3 separate regions of the Homo sapiens genome follow, and all the other regions are linked to region 1. The links are contacts of gene promoters, found by promoter capture Hi-C in human tissues and cell types (Jung and others, 2019). All regions are on one chromosome and are shown on one strand. Each heading gives the region's core, a stretch centred on a gene start or on the middle of the fragment in contact. The rest is flanking DNA. Distances are from core to core; before and after follow the strand shown. Region 1 holds the start of GPR18 (G protein-coupled receptor 18). Region 2 overlaps STK24 (serine/threonine kinase 24). Region 3 overlaps STK24 (serine/threonine kinase 24).

Region 1 (2,791 bases), core at 157-2,656:
TAATTTTAGAAAAGTCCTAAGCTATGTGAATAAGGCAAAGGACAGATTAGGTCTGCATGCAGGCAGATTTCTGTCCAGCTGAAACATCAAACTCCTGTGTGATGAATGAAATATAACATCACATATAAAAAACTGATGAATGTGATTCAGCCATAAGAAGTCCTATCTAGTGGACAGATCAATATAATTACCTCATAAGAAGTTATTACAGCGGGAGAAACTGGACCTGGCTTTACCTTGAGTTCTTAAGCAAGTAACTGGCCTTCAATTTCTTCATCCACACAAGAAATAGTTGCTATGGTTGTCTCCAACACTTCTAAAACCCATCATTCTGGCAGGTTGTAACAATCAAAAGTATTTTATCACCAAAGGCAAGGATTTAAGTAACTTTTCTAAGCCACAGATTTACTATGGTTTTGTCTGAGAAAAAAAAAAAAAAGGATGGACCCCAAACTGTCTAAAATTCAAAAAAACAAATACATTTAAGTTCATGAACCCTTTAAAAAGTTGACAAACCATGCATAACCAAACATAAAGATAATTAAAATTTTAGGATAAGCAAATGAGAGATAATTTTTTTTAAGAAATGAGAAAGTAAAACAAAATTAACCTAACAAGGCAGGCAGCGATTCGTTGCTCACTTCCCTTTCTGCTGGTTTCATTTCCCTTCTTAGGTGAAAACACTCTTAATATGTAAATCAGTCCACTAAAGACTTCAGAGTCCTTTCTGCTAAGATTTGCAGAAATTTTTATGCAAAAGAAATTATTTCTAGACTTCCACGCACTAGAAAAGCAGACTTACAAAATACAGCAAACTAAAGTGGATAAATGTATGTGGCAAAGCAGAAGCAATTAATCAAGGATCCTACTTTTAAGCATTTAGAAATGTTTAAATAGTAAAAAGTGGAAATGTGGATATTCTATGATTTTTAATAACTTGGTAGTAAAAAGTGAGACTCCATTTAGGAGTACCTACTAAGTGCCAGGTACTATTAAGCACTTGGGATCTTTCTGGTTTAGGGCCCCTACAATCCTACTGGATATAGTATTATCTCTATTTCAACTGTACAGAAATGAAGTAGGAACAAAGGGTTAGTCAGAGTGGGTAGGTAACTAGACAAAGTCACATAGCTTATAAAGCAAAGAAGCTAGACTTTAAACCCCCTTTTACTCAATATCAAATCTTCTCTTTCCATAGATGATGCAGACTTCAAGCATCAAAGTACACAAACTGAAGAAACTTTATCCTTTGTATATAATTATCTTAAATATATGCCATCATTTCAAGGGGAGCTTATGCTAAGTGTGACTTCATAAACAAATCATTTGTGAAAGAGAAAAACCACATCCAGGGTAAAGTCATAAGGTGAAAAAGCCTATTTCAGAGAGCACTTCCTGAAAGAGACAAAGCAGCAATTAAAGTCAGCCCAGCACCAACTCCGACGCCAAGCGTTACACTGGAAACTACTTTTTAAAGCAACAAAAGAGTCTAAAACAAAATACAACATTTCTTAAATACACTGTTTCCAGAAAGAGCTATTTTAACAGAAGCAACTCAAAGATATCCCTTCGACAGAAGTGGAAGTGCTGAAAAATGCTCATCTCTCACACAGACTTTTGATGGACAGGAGGTAAGCAGCATTTAATTAACTTCATGATTATTGTCAAAAGTAATGCTTTATGTACTGCATTTCAAAAATCATTTCATTTTAATAATACAGGCTGGGCGCAATGGCCCACGCCTGTAACTCCAACACTTTGGGAGGCCAAGGCAGGAGGATCAGTTGTGCCCAGGAGCACCATAGTGAGACCCCGTCTCTATTAAAAAAATATATTTAATTAAAAAAATAAACATAACAAACTATGTTGGTGAAAGACCTTGAAATAGGCTATATAATCATCTTTCCACATTAATATGATTTTACATTTATTTTCAATATTGCTTTACATTAATACTAAATGTAATTTTTTTCAACTTAAGGAAAGAAAATGTTTATGGTAAATCATATGTATATTTAGGAATGTTCATCACATGTTTTCAATTACATTGTTTCATGAAATAACTTAATGGTTTTTAAGAAAAGAAAAGCTACAGATAATCATGGTATCTATAGCTTTTAAAAAGCTGACTTTAAAGTCAATCACTTTTCAATATTTATCCAAAAATTTCTGTGTTTGCAGAGCACAATCAATACTATAATGCCTTTAAAACACATGCATCACTCATTTTTTTTCAAACGTCAGCAAATGAATATAAGTATTGGTGACAAGCTACATAAAAACAGCTTGAGCATAACGTGGGAAAAAAGACTCAAGATGGTTTGTAAGTACAGGACTTATGTCACAAAATTGAAGGATGAGGATAGGTGAAGGGAGTCCTGATGCAATACTAAAAAAAGAAAAACAAATACAAAATTTCATTTATATTATAATTGCTACTATTTAATAAGAATGCATTCCAGTTAAAAATAAGATTTAAGCCTCCAAGATTACTCTCCTTTGAATGACACTAGAGATATAATTTTTCTCTGTAGCACTTTCCTCATTTGATAGAAATTAATATTCTAGTCACACCAATATTTGGAAAATTTAATATGTTTTTAAATATATAGAATTATGCTCCTAAATCATATTTAACCTAAATATTTGAGAAGGAAAGAAGGAGAAGAAGGGAAGAAAGGGAAGGGAAGGGAAGGGAAAGGAAGGAAGGCAGACAGGCACGTTTCTTGTGTTTAACCACAGCAATTGCTCAAGTTAATTCTTAATTATCAATAGCCCGTGATGCCACTGA
Region 2 (2,791 bases), core at 151-2,650, 800 kb after region 1:
GGCAGAAGTTAAAGTTGGCCCACAGTGCAGGTCCATGTGCCAGGCCAGTTGAATGAGGATTTCCGGGGATGAGACCCTAAGTGGTTTTTCAGGGTCTCTAGGTGATTCCAGTTTAAAGCCAAGGTTGAGACCACTGCCCCCGGAAGTTCTTGAGGTACTGCCATTGGGAGATTGCTGGGGTAGCAACAGGGATGACAAGAGAAAGAGACTGGAGAGAGGTTTGGAGAGCCAGGACGCGGCGGTGGATTTGGGTGAAGGAGGGAAGCCAATGTTCCAGGCTGGGGCAGCGTGGCACCAGGTGTTGTGATGTGTGGTGCGGGAAGCCGAGTGTGGGGTGAACCGTGTGTGAGTCTGAGTTGTCCAGGAGAGACGTCCAGTGTGAAGTGGCACCGAGGTGTGGAGTTCAGGTGAGAAAGCTGGGCAGGTGAAGCGGGCTTAGGGGCCACTGCTCTGTGGAGGTCACTTGAGCCGAGAGAAAAAAGGGTGTCAGTTGGGGCATGTGGGGGAGTGAGGCTGGCCCCTAGGTGTGAGGGTGAGGCTCCGCCTGTGAGTGAGAGGGGAGAGGTATGGCCGAGGGGCGGGAGGAGGTGCAGGCTTAATGGGGCCACAGGCATCAGGGGATGATCAGCAGGGCCTGGGGCTCATTGCCTCTGAGGCCCATACAGGACAGGGAGTGATCAGCACACCATCATCTCATGATGGGGGAGGGAGCGCTCGGAGGGACACGGGTGGGCTTTGGAGCGAGTGGAGGGTACCAAATAGAGGCAGTGAGTGTGAATCCCAGAACCAGGGCTGAGAGATGGCCAAGGTGAGGCCAAAGTGTTGGAATGACAGGCATGAGCCACCACACCCAACACAGGGACATCTGCTTCCCTGGTGAGAGGAGGAGCCCAGCAGAGAGAAGCTGATGTCCCAGAGATGGGCTCCCAGGGAGGTGGGGGAGGTGTTCTCCGGGAGGAGGAGGAGGGTGGGCATGCACACACTGGCACGCCAGGGAGTTGTGGAACCACCTCCCGATGGTCTCTTCTCTGTGAGGGAGGAGGCGGGGGGGTCTTTGGGAAATCCCAGAGGGACTGGACAAGGGTGTGATGGGTGGGGACTTGGGGCTGGTGGGTGTGGGTTTAGAGGTCCCCAGGCGGCCTCCCCCTGAACGTCCCAGCGCCCCCAGAGCAGGTGTGCGAGCACTGATGGGATTTCCTGCATTTCTGTGTTAAGGGAAACAGATGGCCAAGCCTCGGGGGGCAGTGATTCTGGGGACTGGATCTTCACAATCCGAGAAAAAGATCCCAAGAATCTCGAGAATGGAGCTCTTCAGCCATCGGACTTGGACAGAAATAAGGTACGTCTGCTCACTCCAGAATGGCCACGCTGACCTCAGTCTGCAGTGTTTTGGAGGCACTTGTGTGTGAAGCTTGCTGTGGGTGCGGCTGGGGTCCTTTGTGGCAGCTGTCCTGGAATTTTGTTGCTAGGGGATGGGCAGATGAAGAGCTTTAGTTCTGTCTGATGATCCAGGTGTTCACACCAGGGAGTCTGGCCTCTGGTCTGTTTTGTGCCACTCTATTCTGCTCTCTGCAGCCCTGCTGTTGAGTTAGGATGTCCCGATGTGGCAATGTCATGGGGTTTGGGGGTGACCCGTGAAATGACTTCATAGCTCTGAGGGACTGTTGTGCATGTTGCGGTTACTTACATACATATCATAATTTTGTGACTGAGTTTTAAGGACCTTATAAGTAAATGCATTGCTTTTGATATTTATGTAAAACAATTTTGATTAATTGGTTTTATGCCTGTTAAATTTATGAAAGGCCATATATTTAGGGTCTTGTAAAGCATAGTGGTGTAGTTTCTTTCAGGCAGGGTGGGCCAGTGGCTGTCCCCTGTTGATCCTACAAGTCCCGCTTTGATAAGTGAACAGGTGTTAAATGTCCAAATAGAGGTTGCAAAAGTAGAAACTCGGTCTCTGTCCTAGACAGCCATTGGAATGGCCAATCTTGACCTGATTTCTATTTCCAGGGTTTCATTAGTAAAGTACTTTTCTCTCTCTCTCTCTCTCTCTCTTTTTTTTTTTTGAGACGGGGTCTCTGTTGCCCAGGCTGGAGTGCAGTGGTGCCATCAGAGCTCACTGTAGCCTCAAACTCCTGGGCTCAAGTGATCCTCCCACCTCAGCCTCCTGAGTAACTGGGATTGCAGGCATGTGACATCACGCCCAGTTTATTTAAAACTTTTTTTTTTTTTAATAGAAACATGGTCTCACTATGTTGCCCAAGCTGGTCTCGAACTCTTGGGCTCAAGTGATCCTCCTGCTTCGGCTTCCCAAAGTGTTGGAATGACAGGCATGAGCCACCACGCCCAACCAGTAAAGCACTTCTGCGTAGATAGCAAGACGAGGCAGTTCACCGCCTGTGCCCACACAGAGTCCCCTTCCACATGGAACCCAGATGCTGGTTTCCCCGGTGCGTGGGTTTTGCATGTCACTGCAGATGAAACTTTGAAGTCTAGTGAGAGGCAGCCGATAGTCTCCTTCAGATGTTATGGTGCGCAGAGGGTGTTTCCTCAGCGTGAAGTGTAGAGGCAACTCCTGCGCTTCCATAGTCCAGGTGGGAGGTTTATTAAATTATTGCCAATGTGAACGTCAACTGTTTCTGATGACCTTTTTTTCCCTCTCCCCCAAGATGAAAGACATCCCGAAGAGGCCTTTCTCTCAGTGTTTATCTACAATTATTTCTCCTCTGTTTGCAGAGGTAGGTACCTGGCTGGCCTTTTCGGAGTGGGAGGGGAGGGGGAAGGAGAA
Region 3 (2,791 bases), core at 95-2,594, 770 kb after region 1:
CTGATGCTAATTATTTGCCCACTTTTCTGTCATTAGAAGTTCCTGAAAGCCAGAGCCAGGGTGTTACTCACTCTGCGTTCCCCCTCAGCCACCCTGGGTACCTAGTAGGTATGTTATGTGTTAGATGAATCAGTTAAGAAATCCTAGCGTCTGTGAGCCTGAGGAACAACCACATAAGCTTTTCCAGCTCAGGAATGGTTCCTGCACTTTGAAGATGGTCAGGGGCTGCTCTGAAGGTAAAATAGGCAACAGGCTTGGATTTCTTCCGGGTTCGCAAGCCTGCAGTTCAGACAGAGGACACTGTGGAGTTAACACAGTAATAGTGGTTCAAGTTGATGAGTCTTGCTGTGTACACGGCCTCACTTCATCATCATCGAAGCCCCTCTGAGGAGCATGCACATTAGTCCCGGGGGCAATGGGAAGTGGAGGCTCATAGGCGAGGCCTTGTTGTAGTTGCCATCAGAGCTGGCCTGAGCCTGGATGCAAACCAGGCCTTAAGGCTTTGAGGCCACATGCGTCATCTGCGCGGAAAGGTACCTTTTACAAAAACTCACGCTCTTAAGGAAGTCTGTGACCCCGTGTGATTTTAATAAAGCCCGCTGCATTGTTTATACCTCTTGGTCTTGGCCTTTGGTTACAGCTGGTGAAATGTGGAGGCTGCCAAGGGCATTTCAGGTGCAGAGCAGAGTTGCAGTTTCGAATTCCTGTTTTAAAATCTTCACTGTTAGCTGTGTAGCATCTGCCCTTTCTCGTTTGTCTTTTTTTTTAACCTTGGTGGGTTCGTGTGACCTCTGCCAAGCTCCTGTGAGAGTTGTTAATGTGGGGGCCCTGGTTCCGGTCAATGATTCCGGGTTCTTAGGAGGCACTTCCAAATACTTTGGGGCAAGTTTGCCTGGAAGTGCTATGGTTATTGATAGTATGTCTATATTAAATTAATTTCTGTAAGCAAAAATTACCAGAAGCAAAAGCTAGTGTTTGCAGCTCCTATTACAGAAGGCGAACTTTCCCAATATGTTAAAAACTCCTACTTTAAAAAAAAGGTCAGTAACCCAATAGAAAAATGGACAAAGGATATACACAGCTCACAGGAAAGAAAATATGCATGACTCTTCAATATATAAAGATGTTCAGCCTTACAATAGGAGAAAGATAAATAAAACTCCCCTGAAGCATCCTTTGTGTATGAATGAATAACTGGCTTAATTTGCTGGGGCTGCCAGAACGAAGTAGCGCAGACTGGGAGCCTTCAGCAGGAATTCGTTTGCTAATAAACCTGGAAAGATGTTGGTAGGGTGGTTTCTTGGGAGGCCTCTCCCCTTGGCTTGTGGATGACCGTCTTCTCCCTGTGTGCTCATGTGGTCTTCCCGTGTGTGTGTGTGTGTGTGTGTGTGTGTGTGTGTGTGTGTGTGTGTCTTCATCTCTTTTTATGACACCAGCCGTATTGGATCAGGGCCCACCCTAATGAGCTCATTGCAACTCAGTCACCTCTTTAAAGAGTCACATTCTGCAGTGTTGGGAATTGGGACTCCAACATGTGAATCGTGGGTGTGTGGGAGAGGGAAGCACAATTCAGTCCATAAAAATGACCAAAAAATAATAATAAAATAAAACTTGATGACACTGTGGCATGGGAAAGGGGGAAATTAGCACCCTCAGACACTGCTGAGGCCATATATGGGACAGCCTCTTTGGAGGGTCACTTGTCAGTATCTGTTAAAAATTCAGATGGAGTCCCTTCACCCAGCAGGTCTGCTTCCAGGACCCAGCAAAACTGACAAATGTACAGCTCTTCCTTGACACCTGGGCCGTCAGAGCGAAAAATGGAAACAATGTGAGCTCAATAAGGCATGGGCTAATTATGGTTAAAAAAATGAGGAAGTCCTTTACATATGGACTGCTCTTTAAGAAACTTTAGGTAAAAAGCAAGGTAAACAACAGTGTGTGTAGAATGCCACCGTTTGGGTAAAAGGGGGGTAAAGTTTTGTAGGTATTTGCTCGTATGTGCATAACTATTTTTCTCTGAGGTTACATTAGATGTCGTGATGACTTGCTGGGGCAGGGACGGTTGGTTTGCTGGGTAATGGGGGCCCAGGGTGGGAGGGAGACTTCTCACTGTATATACTTTGGCACCTTTTAAATTTTCACTCCAGAATTTATTAATTAAATGAATACTTTTATTTCCCTGATGAGAAAATTGTATCACGAGGTCATTCATAACTTAGGTTATTTGAGGTTGTTGAAAAAACATGAAATTATTTCGATTAAAGTCATCATTGTGTTGAGAAGCCTGCTGGTTTATTTTTCTTGGGGAATGAGTGCCTCAGAAGTCATGGTTTGGAAGGTTTTATGAGGACAGTGGTTCCACATCTGCAGGACAGAGCTGGGTCCTTCCCGGAGAACAGGCTGCCACTCAGACGCTCCTGCCATGAGGCCTCTGGTGCAGAATACGTGAATCATTGTACCAGGCTTCATTTTGCTTAGAAACTACTTAGAATTGTTAATTGGGCCCTTTTGGTTTTACCAGGTTATTCAGAGGCATTTCTGGGTGATGATGTTGATAAAGCTGATAGCACTTTGCATCTGTTGAGCACCATGAATTTTGCCAAGTGCTTTCCCACTCATGATCTCATTTAATTGTCACTTGGAACTGTGAGGTTGGAAGCACCGATCTGATTCCCATCTTGTTGTGGATGAAGAATTTAGAGGGTTTAAATGACTTGCCTGATGTCTCCTGGTAAGAGCTGGTCTTCCTGCTGCAGGAGTTTCAGTGTGTAAGCCAAGACGAGGAAGA

Evidence for each region. The method cuts DNA at HindIII sites, captures the fragments that hold promoters and counts their contacts. A contact is called where the count stands out against the background at its distance.
Region 2: a fragment that was not itself captured here is called in contact with the fragment with the promoter of GPR18 in region 1 in 1 of the 25 tissues and cell types used here (dorsolateral prefrontal cortex).
Region 3: a fragment that was not itself captured here is called in contact with the fragment with the promoter of GPR18 in region 1 in 1 of the 25 tissues and cell types used here (spleen).

The regions. Positions count from the first base shown.
Region 1 is chr13:99,256,994-99,259,784 of GRCh38, reverse strand. It overlaps GPR18 (G protein-coupled receptor 18), which reads left to right and starts at 1,406. Exons shown (of 2, transcript NM_001098200.2): 1 at 1,406-1,631. The region is part of intron 4 of UBAC2 (UBA domain containing 2); the gene reads right to left. LOC124903198 (a long non-coding RNA gene) reads left to right here. Exons shown (of 3, transcript XR_007063846.1): 3 at 1,199-1,346. The HindIII fragment of the contact is 6,968 bases long and covers 1-1,419 here.
Region 2 is chr13:98,460,322-98,463,112 of GRCh38, reverse strand. STK24 (serine/threonine kinase 24) reads left to right here. Exons shown (of 11, transcript NM_001032296.4): 8 at 1,216-1,339; 9 at 2,673-2,741. Among named protein-coding and RNA genes, the nearest start is that of FARP1-AS1, 26 kb to the right of the region's middle. The HindIII fragment of the contact is 4,293 bases long and covers 1-2,791 here.
Region 3 is chr13:98,486,782-98,489,572 of GRCh38, reverse strand. The region is part of intron 2 of STK24 (serine/threonine kinase 24); the gene reads left to right. Among named protein-coding and RNA genes, the nearest start is that of FARP1-AS1, 52 kb to the right of the region's middle. The HindIII fragment of the contact is 3,535 bases long and covers 1-2,791 here.